Regions from separate parts of the Homo sapiens genome. Here region 1 is linked to region 2. Evidence: promoter capture Hi-C in human tissues and cell types (Jung and others, 2019). All regions are on one chromosome and are shown on one strand. Each heading gives the region's core, a stretch centred on a gene start or on the middle of the fragment in contact. The rest is flanking DNA. Distances are from core to core; before and after follow the strand shown.

Evidence for each region. Contacts are between HindIII fragments. The study calls those that stand out against the background at their distance.
Region 1: a contact is called between a fragment that was not itself captured here and the fragment with the promoter of FAM78B in region 2, in 3 of the 25 tissues and cell types used here (heart right ventricle, mesendoderm cells and thymus).

The regions. Positions count from the first base shown.
Region 1 is chr1:166,473,364-166,479,163 of GRCh38, forward strand. LINC01675 (long intergenic non-protein coding RNA 1675) reads right to left here. Exons shown (of 3, transcript NR_146890.1): 2 at 3,518-3,606; 3 at 2,409-2,841. It also overlaps the pseudogene FMO7P. Among named protein-coding and RNA genes, the nearest start is that of LINC01675, 14 kb to the right of the region's middle. The HindIII fragment of the contact is 3,902 bases long and covers 1,488-5,389 here.
Region 2 is chr1:166,164,152-166,170,442 of GRCh38, forward strand. It overlaps FAM78B (family with sequence similarity 78 member B), which reads right to left and starts at 2,850. Exons shown (of 2, transcript NM_001017961.5): 1 at 1,835-2,850. The coding sequence starts at 2,097. LOC112268276 (a long non-coding RNA gene) reads left to right here and starts at 1,726. Exons shown (of 3, transcript XR_002958633.2): 1 at 1,726-1,903. RefSeq lists enhancers at 1,717-2,619, 1,791-1,960, 2,061-2,110, 6,025-6,104 and silencers at 2,501-2,560, 2,601-3,090, 5,125-5,184. The HindIII fragment of the contact is 7,560 bases long and covers 1-6,291 here.

The DNA.
Region 1 (5,800 bases), core at 2,189-4,688, 310 kb after region 2:
GCGCTGGGGACATTTTCCTCATTGTCTTGGTGATTAACATTTGGCTCCTTGTTACTTATGCAAATTTCTGCAGCTGGCTTGAATTTCTCCTCAGAAAATGGGATATTTTTTCTATGGCAGTGTCAGGCTGCAAATTTTCCCAACTTTTATGCTCTGTTTCTCTTTTAAAACTTAGTGCTTTTAACAACACCCAGGTCACCTCTTGAATGCTTCGCTGCTTAGAAATTTCTTCCACCAGATACCCTAAATCATCTCTCTCAAGTTCCAAGTTCCACAAATCTCTAGGGCAGGGACAAAATGCTGCTAGTCTCTTTGCTAAAACATAGCAAGAGTCACCTTTACTCCAGTTCCCGACAAGTTCTTCATCTCCATCTGAGACCACCTCAGCCTGGATTTCATTGTCTGTATCATTATCAGTATTTTGGTCAAAGCCATTCAACAAGTCTCTAGGGAGTTCGAAACTTTCCTACATTTTTTGCCTTCTTCTGAGCCCTCCAAACTGTTCCAACCTCTGCCTGTTACTTAGTTCCAAAGTCGCTTCCACATTTTTGGGTATCTTTTCAGTAGCACCCCACTCTACTGGTACCAATTTACTCTGTTAGTCCATTTTCACACTGCTGATAAAGACATACCTGAGACTGGGCAATTTACAAAAGAAAGAGGTTTATTGGGCTTACAGTTCCACATGGCTGGGGAGGCCTCACAATCATGGTGGAAGGTGAAAGGCATATCTCACATGGATGGCAGCAGGCAAAGAGAGAGCTTGTGCAGGGAAAAATCTCATGAAACTTATTCACTATCAAGAGAACAGTACGGGAAGATCTGCCCCCATGATTCAATTACCTCCCACCAAGTCCCTTCCACGACATGTGGGAATTCATGATGAGATTTTGGTGGGGACACAGCCAAACCATATCAGGAGCTCACCACCAGTACTCAGCTGAGACAAGAGCTGGGAAAAAAATGCACTGGCCAGAGCACAGCTGCTTAGGACACTAGGGGATCTGTACAGGAATTCCCCAGAAGGAAGCATGGGTGGGTGGGCACCTTGAAATATGGCAGCAGGTTACAGGAAGTGCTTCTAGTTAGATGCCAAGCTATTCTGTGCTTTGCCTCTGAACTTGCTCATATTGCCTCTATTTTTGAAATTGTACATAGATAAATCCCCAAAGGAATCATATTTGTTCAATGCTTAGCTGTCTTCCTAGCATTTTACTAAGCTTTTTACTTTCAATGTGGTCCTTACAAAAAGTAGATAGAGCCAGTATTACTGCAACCCCATTTTCCTGACAGCTCACTGAAGAACAGTCACTTGTTCAGAGAATGCAAGTCCCAAATAGTGAAGCTAGGCCAAGTACATGGGCAGACAGAAGAAGGAAAGCCCAGCATCTACCAATCTTTGACCATCAACACTTAGAAGTAAATGACCTGCTTCAGTGACTTCTCATACTCCATCACTTTCCAAATAACATGTAAAACCCATAGCTCCTGCAGCATTTGAGGATATATGCCAAGCACTTTTAAAAACAGTTTTATTTTGAATTGATAAACAATTATTCTATACATATTTGGGTCACAATATGATGTTTCAATACACTCATAAATTGTGGAATGATCAAATCAGGCGAATAAGTGTGTCTATCACCTCAAATATTTATCATTTCTTTGTGGTGAGAACATTTAAAATCATATTCTTTAGTTATTTTGAAATATATAATACATTGACCTTGTGAAATACATCTGTTTCTGGGTAAGCTTTAAAGTTTTTTATAATTATTATTATTTTGACCTTTGAGCGCAAAGCTGATGAGGGCAATTGTCACCTTTCTCCAGAAATGGGCACATAAATACAATATTTTTCATGAAATTTCAGAAGATTAAATCTCCTGGTTTAGAAATACTGCTCACTGATTTAGAGGCAATAGTGTGTTTATTTGCAAAAGCTTATTCCCTATATAGCGGTCTTTTGTGAATATGTGTGTATATCAACAATACAACTTTCTCACTTGGCATTTTCTTTGCAGAAAGGCAGAGTATTGTTAAAATTCCCTTTTCGGAGCCATCTCTTTCTGGATTAAATGAGTTAGTGCAGATAGAATACTTAGATTGGTGGCTTTCCTAAGGTAAACACTAACCATTAACAGTCATTATCCTCATTTCTCTACACTCATGGAACCTTAAATTTGGAAAGGCTATGCCATATCTCTCTAGAAATTCATTTTTTCTGATAGATGGATATCTAGTCCCTGCTTGATTACTTCCCACAACAGGTTGCTTACAACCTCACAGGAAAATCTAATTTAGTGTTAGACAGCATTTGATGACTCTGTGGCATAATCCCCAAAACAACAACTGTTGAACATGTATGTGTCCGTACATTTATCCATCTCTCATGTGTCAGTTTATCCCTATGTTCTTCTATTTGAAAGACTTAAAATCAAGGGTGTATTGGCATATATATCTGCTTCGTAAGCTATATTACCAAGGGAAAAAAGGTCAAGCATCAGCTATAAAGAAAAAAAATAACTTATTTATTACACATCACTCAATTTTCACAAAAATTGTGAAAGAACTTTAAATGAGATGGTAAATCTCACCAAAGATTTTTACACATAGGAAGATCTAAAAAAAAATGATTACTCAGAATTCACTTTTCTTGAAATCTGTGAAGTAAACAGCATGATCTCTGTTGGTTCCAATCCAGTCCTCTGGTTTCAGAAGGAGGTAGAAGGAGCTGGCATGTGACACCCATATTTGTCCTTTGGTTCTCAGATAAAGATGTGCAGTATGAGGAAGCATCCTGGTTTCTCTTGCACTGGCCAATGGAACATTGTGGTGAGGCTGAGGGGAAGCAAAGGTCATCTGTCTCTGGCACAGTTATGGGCTGCAGTGGTCATCAGACTGACCCTCATTTACCTAGGTATGTAACTTTCCTATCTTGGGGAATCCTAATGGTGGAGGGATGATTTATGCAAAGCAAAGGAAATGCCTCTCCTTTATAACAGTCTGTGGTTAAGTAAAACAAATTTAAAATTATCTTGACAATGTCAAACAATAAGTCACTAACCCAAATAAATAACCCCTTTTAGAAGAAAACCTGACTTCTGTAGAGATTTCAGTTTTATAAAGGAAAAAGCCTGTTAGAATCAGAATGTCCAAGCCCAAACCAAAAATAGCACTTACTTTTCAACAAAGGTATCTATCTGTTTTACCCCCCTCTAAGTGTTGTCAGACTACACTTAAAGGATTATGTTCTGTTCTCATTTTAAATTTATTTTTAAAAATTTATTTATTTATTTTTTATTGTACTCTTTGAAGTGTTTCACTTTGAAGGAATGGTGACAAAAGGGAACTTCATTAAAGGAGAACAATAAGAATATTAAAGAGATAAATGCAGCTTGGTGAACATTTAAAAACCACTAAAGTTATTTAACCTGAGAGGGACATTCACTGGGGGAGGAGGACACTCACGGAGGGAGGAAGAGGAGCAGGATAGCTGTGTTTGACCACAACTCACCATCATATAAAAGATGGAGTCAACACGATGTGTGTTCTTGTTGAGCAAAACAAGTAGTGGATAGAGGCTCCAGGAAGGTCGACTTGGATCTAAATAAGAAGGGATTTCCAACAAGAAGTAATGATCTAAAATGAAACGGTCTGCCTTGTGAAGTAGTAGATTTCCTAATTAAGGAAATATTTAAGCAGAAACTAATGATCATTAATGAGGAGTTTATAGATCAATGGTTCTCAAACTTTAGTATGGCAAGAATCACCCAAAGTCCTTGTTAAATCAGATTATTAGTTCCAACTCCCCAAAATTCCAATTCAACATGTGTGGAGTGGGTCCTCTGAATTGAATTTGCCTTTGCCTAAGTTCTCTGGTGCTGCTGCTGCTGCTACTGCCGGTCTGTGGGTTAATTTTGCATAGCAAGTCTCTGCTAATATATGATGTAAAATTGGACCAGATGGACTCATTTTCCAATTTTGAGAGTCCATGATGATAATGATAGAAAAAACATAGTATGCTGTATGGATTTGGGTATTACCAAAATGAACTTGCTCTGTGAAAATGTATATAAAATAACTTCATGTGTTTACTATGGTAAATAAGATTTCTGTTAGTATCAGTTAATGTTGGTGTAACATAGAGCAGTGGTCTCCAATCTTTTTGGCACCAGGGAAGAGTTTTGTGGAAGACAATTTTTCCACAGAGTGGGGTGGGGTGGGGATGATTTGGGGAAGATTCAAATGCATTACACTTATTGTGCACTCTATTTCTATTATTATTACATTGTAATATATAATGAAATGATTATCCAATTCACCATCATGTAGAATCAGTGGGAGCCCTGAGCTTGTTTTCCTGAAACTAGATGGTCCCATCTCAAGGGATAGGAGACAGTAACAGATCATTAGATATTAGATTCTCATAAGGAGCATGCAACCTAGATCCTTCACATGTGCAGTCCACAATAGCGTTTGCACTCCTGTGAGAATCCAATGCCACCACTGATCTGACAGGAGGCAAAACTCAGGCAGTAATGCAAGCAATGGGCAGTGGCTGCAAATACAGATGAAGCTTTGCTTGCTAGTCCACCGCTCACCTCCTGCTGTGCAGCCCAGTTCCTAACAGGCCACAGACCAGTACCAGTCCATGGCCCACGGATTATGGATCTCTGACACAGAAGGACCAGTAGTAAAAGAAGTTGAACATGGTACTATATATAAATTCTAGTTATAAAATGGGTTTACTGTTAGACTGCACAAATGCAATGCAAAAGCTAAAGTAACCTTTGCATTTCTTGAATCTAAACAATTATTTTCCATTTATTTTCCTTAAATAGAGATTGAGAAATTCAAAGGCAAATATTTCCACAGTGAGAAATATAAAATTTAGAGGGATTTATGGGAAACAGAATCCTCATGACTGGCATTGGAAATTCTGGCTCTGATCTGGCTGTGGTGCTCAGCCACACTGCAAAGCAAGCCTATTTTCTTACAGCTGCATCTTGTTGTTGTGGTAATCCTCCACCTGCATGGAGAGGCACAAAGTATAGGATAACCAAGATTCAGGGGTTATTTTTATGGCTTCCCACTGAAAACACCTTATCTACACACAAGAGACAACAAAGGATTAAGTGTGTTGGCTGGGCCAAATGGATTCCCAGTAATCAGATCAGAAATATTCAGGTCGTTTGCTCTCTGCCAAGATCTCTACTAGTTAACACAGATATATTGTAGATGATTACATGGTTATTAAAAAAAATTACATTATAGGACTCCAGGCATTTGTGATCCCATTTATGGTTAAAAAAAAAAAAACCTATATATCTATGGTTATATGTGCATATGCAATTTCAAAAAAGATTCAAGTAACCGTTAACAGTGGCTTCCTCTGGGCATAAAGAATGGATATGCATGTGTGTGGCGGGGGGGTGAGGGGGTTATATATATTTTGTTAACAGATCGAGAGTGAGATTACAATACTTAACTAGTGAAACAAAATATTCAGCAACTTTGATAATTAATTCAGACCATCACTCTGCTACTCCTAATGACAAGGTTTAGAAATATAGCTACAACTGGCAAAGAAGATTTGGGGAGATTTAGAGTGATCTAGATAGGCGGTTTAAATACTGCAAATTTTCCAAACTGTTATTTGACAATGCACTGACTTTGAAGTCTCTGAACAATCTGTGAACAGTAGTTGTGTTCATTTAATGTGGTTAACAAGGGGTAGATAGATCAGCTGTTGGCTATGTGCTAAACAATTTCACAATAATTAATTTGTACCAGGGGA
Region 2 (6,291 bases), core at 1,600-4,099:
TGAGGCAACAGAGAGTTCCGCTGTGCAGTCTTGGGAAAAGTGAGGCTGCTTCTGCACAGTCACTCCTGGCTTCCTCTACCAGGGGCCCCAGGCTGCTGTGGGGAGCACTTGCTGTCCTCCAGCAACCCACTGCCATCAGGGTGAGGCCAGGGAAATGAGAGGAAGGGCTCTTGCCCTGCCTGTGGCTTTCTCTGACTTGGCTGGAAACAATGGATTTATTTTAAAAAGCAGTTTTAAGAGACACATGTGTTCACATATAATCATTCTTTTGAGGGTATGTCAGTTTTTAAATGGCATGATTCGCCCCAAATAAAATATCCCCCATTTCTCACATCTAGCTGTCTTCTCTGGAAGAATACAGTGTGCTGAGGCATATTGGAAACTGGGCCTCACATTTCTTCACTAGGAATTGAGTTTTCTCAAGGATTAAGCTTTTGTGCTTAAAGAGAAAAGTGCAAAATCTTTGGGAGGAAAAAAGGAAAACAACGACCTGTCAAATTTCTTTTAGCGCCTATGACTAGTGTTAACTGACATGCTCTCAGAGTGCAATAAAAAGCCTGCAAACTGCTGCTAAAAAGATGGTTTGACCTTTTAAAATGGGAACTCCCCCACCCCATATCCATATTAAATAGACGAACCTTGGGAGCTCTAGAGTTTTAGATTAATAAGTGAAATGAGGTTGAATTTCCAGAAAAAGGGTTTCCCTGTAGGCTGCAGACTGGCTAATTAGGGTGTTCTAGACCTACATTGTAACAGCAGGTAGAAGGCAGGCCCTAAACCTTTTAGCTATTGTCGTTGCCACCTGCTCAGAGTCTAGTTCTGAAAGGAGGCGGGTGCGGAGTTATGAAAATTTGGTAAATATAAAAGTCCCGGACGCGACCGCCCGTAGCCTGCGGCCCCTGGCGGTTGAGGAGCCGCGGCGATCCTTGGTCTTCACCGCAGCAGCCAAGCCCGGCGCGCACCAACCGGCGCTGCTGAAAGTTGGAGAGCTCCCAGCTCGCCGATAGAATTCGGCGGTGGGCGCCAGGGGAATCCCTTCCAGTGCCGCAATTAGGAAAGTTTTAAAAAGTAAGGACCCTAGACAGACAAGAGATCCATCCTTTCCTTTAGCATAAGAAACACCCCGCGCCGCGCCAGCCGAACGCTGCTCGCACAAGGCTATCCGCCCTTCTTGGCCGGGACGCACTCGGTGCCTTCCAGCTCCCCACCAGAACTGGTCCAGGGGGCGCGGAAACAGAGAGGCAACTGTGTCCGGCTTGTGGTTCCAGACGGAAACGCCTCCGGGCTCCCTGGCCCGGGGGACAAGGGTTCGAAACTTCAACAGTCGCGAGGGCAAGGACAGAACTACCAACTCCCGCTCGGATGCCCGGGACCTGCTCTTCCAAGCCCGCTCCGGTTTCTCCAAAGGACGCGCGGCACAGCCCATGCGCCCCCGGCACTCCACTCCACTCCTCTATGGTTTCCCCCAAACTCTTCCCGGGGAGCCCCACAAAGCACAGACGGCGCCCTGAAACTCGCCAGGCACTCGCCAGCCATCCCCACCTCCGCCTCTCGAACCCTCCTTGTCGCGTTCTTCCCGCCCCGCACCTTTCTCCTCGCGTTTCTGGGAAGTCAGAAGCAAACCACGAGAAAATGCCTTCGCAAGGAGCCTCCCTACACCCGCCCTGTCACTGAAACAAAAGCGTAGGGAGGAGGGAGGTGGGAGAGGAGGCGGGAGGAAGGTTTAGAAAGACGATGGGGACAGCAGTAGGAAGGAGCTGGGGAGGGGGGTCAAGGTGGCAAGCAGAGCTGGGGGCCCAGAGTCCGCTCCCGTGCCGCGCGGCGAGTCGCTTACATGCCCAGGTCGCTGTAGGTGTTGAAGAACTCCATCTGATTGCACGCCTGAATCCAGCCCACCACCCAGGTCTCGTGGCGGGGGATGGGGGGCATGACCACGCGGGCGGAGGCTTTGAAGTAGGGGGTCTTGTAGCGCAGGACGATGGGCGAGGTCTCCTCGATGCGCGTGGGGCACTGGTCGATGGTGGCGCACACATCGTACACCACGATGTTCTCGCGCCGGATCCGCGCCTTGCAGGTGATGCTTTGGATACAGCCCATCCTGCAGCCCGGTGCCGGCACGGCGCGGCGTGGGGCAGCGCGGGGGCCCGCGCGGGCAGCCGGGGGCGCCCGTCACGCCGGCATGGCGACGCGCCGCTCGCTCCCGGTCAGACTCAGCTCGCACCTAGGAGCGGGGAGCCGCCGGGCATCCTTGGGGAAGCCCCCTCCTCTTGCAGCCGCGCGGGGTCCCCGCTGCCCCGACGTCCGCCCACGCCCGCCCCCTCGCTCCGGCAGGGCGCGCGGAGGGTGCACTCCTAGGAGGCGGCGGGTGCCCTCGCCGGCTCCAGCGCCCGGGCGGAGGGCAGGGAGGGGAGCGGCGCTGCGAGGAATGGTGCCCACCCCGGGCCGGAGCCCCCCGCCCCTCGCCGGAGAGGAGGAGGCGGCAGCGGCGGCGGCATGGAGCCGGGGGAGGGCGGCGGTGGCAGCGCCCGGTCTGTCTGCCTCCGCGGCGGCAGCAGCAGCAGCCGCCGCCGCCGCCGCCGCTGCATGAACCTCTGCACCACGGCTGCCCCCCGCGTGCAGCGCACCCAGCGGCGGGCGAGCGGGCGGCCCAAGAGGCAGGCGGAGGCAGCAGCGGCGGCGGCGGCGACCGGAGCTCCCGCCGGCCCCGCCCCGTAGCCGGACCACACCGACACTCCTCGGCCCGGCTGCCTCGGCCCGGGGGGCGCCAGGAGGCTGTGGCCCGGGGTGGAGAGCCCCAACGGCTGGAGCAGCACAGGACGTGCTCCGCGGAGGAAACTGGCTGTACGCCATGAGTTTTGTCCCTATTCGGCTGCCGTCCGGGTGGGGGGGGGGTAATGTGTAAGGGTGGGGGTGTTTAAAGGGCCGCTAGCGCCGGGGTGGGGCCCCGCACGTGGGGCTGAGGCGGGGCGGGGCCCTGGTAGGTGGTGCCCTGGGGTGGGGGTGGGGGACTAGGGCGGGCCCAAGCGCCACCGGGTGGGTGAGGCCGAGCAGGGCGCGGCGCTGTCCAGAGTCCAGTGGGGAACCCGGTAGCCCAGTAGGGGCTGTAGAGTGAGTGTTTCGGGCAGCAGAAGGGTTAGGGGAACAGCTTTATCAGAGATTGGTCGTTATTCAGAATATAGCTTGTTGGATTAGATTTAGGCTTGAGCCCTTTTAGTATCCTACCTTCAGAAAGGGTGAAGGGCGGGCTCCAGCAGCGTTACTAAATGCAGTGTATTTGCCTCTTTGCCTGACTGGGTTTGTTCTGGAAGCTCTTCTTTCCACCACTGTGTGTAGTGGGGATACCGGAAGAATCCCTCCGTACTCCAGCACTAAGTCTCTCATATGCCAGAGTTTTGGCAGACATTGGGCATTGTGTACAGTATGACCACGGTCATGTGTCTGATACTGCAGTCTAATGTGCCAAACAGGAAGAATATTTAGCAGATGCTTTTACTAGGCATCTTCTTACATTTTTATTTTCAAAGCCAATAGCTTCTAAGTATTTCTTCTGCGATCATTGAACATTTGCTGGATCTGCTGCCCAAGTGTGAAATACTGACTAACAGGCCGCAGGAGGTGCTAGAGTTAGTCTTTAGCTAGGACAGGTGTGACGAGTAATTTAAAAATTGATTGAGATCTAAAAGCACTCTTCATCCTTGTTTTAACTGTTCTGACACCTTGGTTCACTTTATAGTTAACAAAAAAGCAGTTTTTCCCTTTGATGACTCGTCTCTCTCATTTTACCGTGTAGCCACAGACCTCAATCACTGGTCCTTTCATTCAGCAAAGGCTGACTGCCTGCCTGGCAGGAGCCAAACATAGTGCTAGGTACTAGGGATTCAAAGTTGAAAAAGAGCACATGGATCACTGGAGAAAATAAACCTGTTAACAAGTTATTATAGTAAACTGTGACACCTGCTTTAGTGGGGTTGTGTATCCAGTGCCGTGGAAGGCCAGACATGTAAATCTCTGGCCACATGTAAATCCCTCAGTGGTCAGAGAGCCACTCAGTGGCTCTCTGGCCACTGAGAGATTTACGTGTGACTTTGCTCAAGTAGTGACATTTAAATTGAATACTGACAGACTGTAGAGTCTCACTGAAAAGAGAAAGGTGAATGAGTAGTACAGGACCAGCATTTGGCAAATGCAAAATGCATAGAGATATGAAAGAACTCATCCTGTACTGAGGGGGAGAAACAACTCACAGTCAAGGCATTTCTCAAGGTGTTATGTGTCGACCATGGGCATCAGAATCACTGTCCAAGAATCAATTGGTTGTTGATAGACCATATCTTTTTTCTTTTTAAAATTAAGACTACAGACTTTATTTTGATTTTACTAGTTTTTCCACTAATGTCTTTTTTTCTCTAGAATCTAATCCAAGATATGATGTTGCATTTAGTCATTACATCTCCTTATTCTTCTCAATCTGTGACAGCTTCTCAGTCTTTCTCTGTTTTTCATGACCTTGACATTTTTAAAGAGGACTGGTCAGATATTCTGTAGAATTGTTCCTCATTTGCATTTATCTGATGTTTCCTCATGATTAGACCAGGGTTTTGGATTTGGGGGATGAATACCATGAAGATGAAGTGCCTTCTCATTGCATTATGTCAGGGGTACATGATAGCAATATGACTTTTTACTGGTGTTATTAACCTTGATCACTGGGTTTGGTGAATAATTTTTTTAACTTTTAGGTTCAGAGGTACAGGTGCAGGTTTGTTATATAGGTAAATTGCATGTCATAGGGGTTTGTTGGACAGATTATTTTATCACCCTGGTAATGAGGATAGTACCCAATAGGTATTTTTTTTTTATCCTCTGCCTCCTCCTACCCTTCACCCTCTAGTAGGGCCCAGTGTCTTCTCTTGATAGGACCTTATCTTAAACTTCAGTGGAAGCCAATGAAGGCAAGCCATGCATTTTGAGAAAAATTACTCTGCATCCATATAGAGAATAGAGGAGGCAGCGTTTCAGAATATTGTGATGACAGATACTTTGACCCTCGGCTAGCTTGGGGCAGTGCTGTGGGGCTGGAGAGGCCTGGCTGCATTTGCATTTAAGAATCACTTAGGAGGTAAATGTATTTACTTGGTAACTGAACAAGGTGATAGAAGGGGAAGCAGCTTGGGACTGTGGGTGATGTCATGTTAAGTTCGAGGTTCTTGGAGGTATTTGGGGGGCAGGGTGGGGTCAGAGTTTGAGTTTCAGTGGTTATTAGGTTCCAGGCAATAGACCAAAAGGAAAGCATTTCATTGGGGAATGTAGTTATGTTTCTTAATTTGAGTTGCTTGTCAGGCTGCAGTTTTGTGGATAAATAACTCCTTTGTCTTCTGGTGACACATGTTAAACCTTCATAAACGGGGAGGGGAATGGCAGCCTTTCCCAAAATATAGGGAAATCACATAAGGAAGAATATCTTATTTTTCAAACTTAAAATAAGATTTTGTTATATTTAGTAAAGCCAATAAAATGTAACATTATTCATGGACTTGGACCCTTGACATTCTCAGAGGGTTCATCCATGACCTTGGTGAGTCTCCAAAATCATGAATGTCATCATGGCATATAATTTCCACCATAAAGTACGGTAAAGTGTAGCTGAAAAATGTAAAGAATCTTTTTAGACTCTTAATGGTTCTATGAATATGGGGCCAAAGTAATTTCTAAAGCTACTTAAATAAATTTTGCCATTAAAATAAACTTCTTACTTCATTACCTTATATCTTTACCTTATTAACGCCCTATTTCCCTGACTCTGTGAAGAAAAAATTGATCACAGTATGAGAATTATTGTGCGGATGTCGATGAGAAAGTAAGGAGAGCTAAGTGGTACTGGGACACAAATGCCAGTGTTAGGAGTGGTCATTCACTAGCTGAGTGGCTGGCAAGTACACTCTGGCCTCCTGGCAGCCCCATTCAAATTTGTGTCTCAGCAAATTACCTCATGACAGGGACCTTTTGGATTACTCACTGGGGGTTTTTATCATTCATGCATATTCAGTCTGCAAATGCCAATGCAGGGCTATCTGTAGCTCAAATGAAATCCCCAGAATTTGCAACAGTTTCTCTGTGCTGCTCTTCTAAGTTTCTCTTTCTGTCTCCTCATGGTAAGTCCCTTGCTTCTATTAACACCTTTAAAGCTGTTTCACAGTTCCTTGCTCACACTTGTCTCTCCCAATAAGCTGTTCACTCCTCAAGAGAATGCACCATCGTGCCCTGTTGCCCAGCCTAGTGCGTGGCACCTAG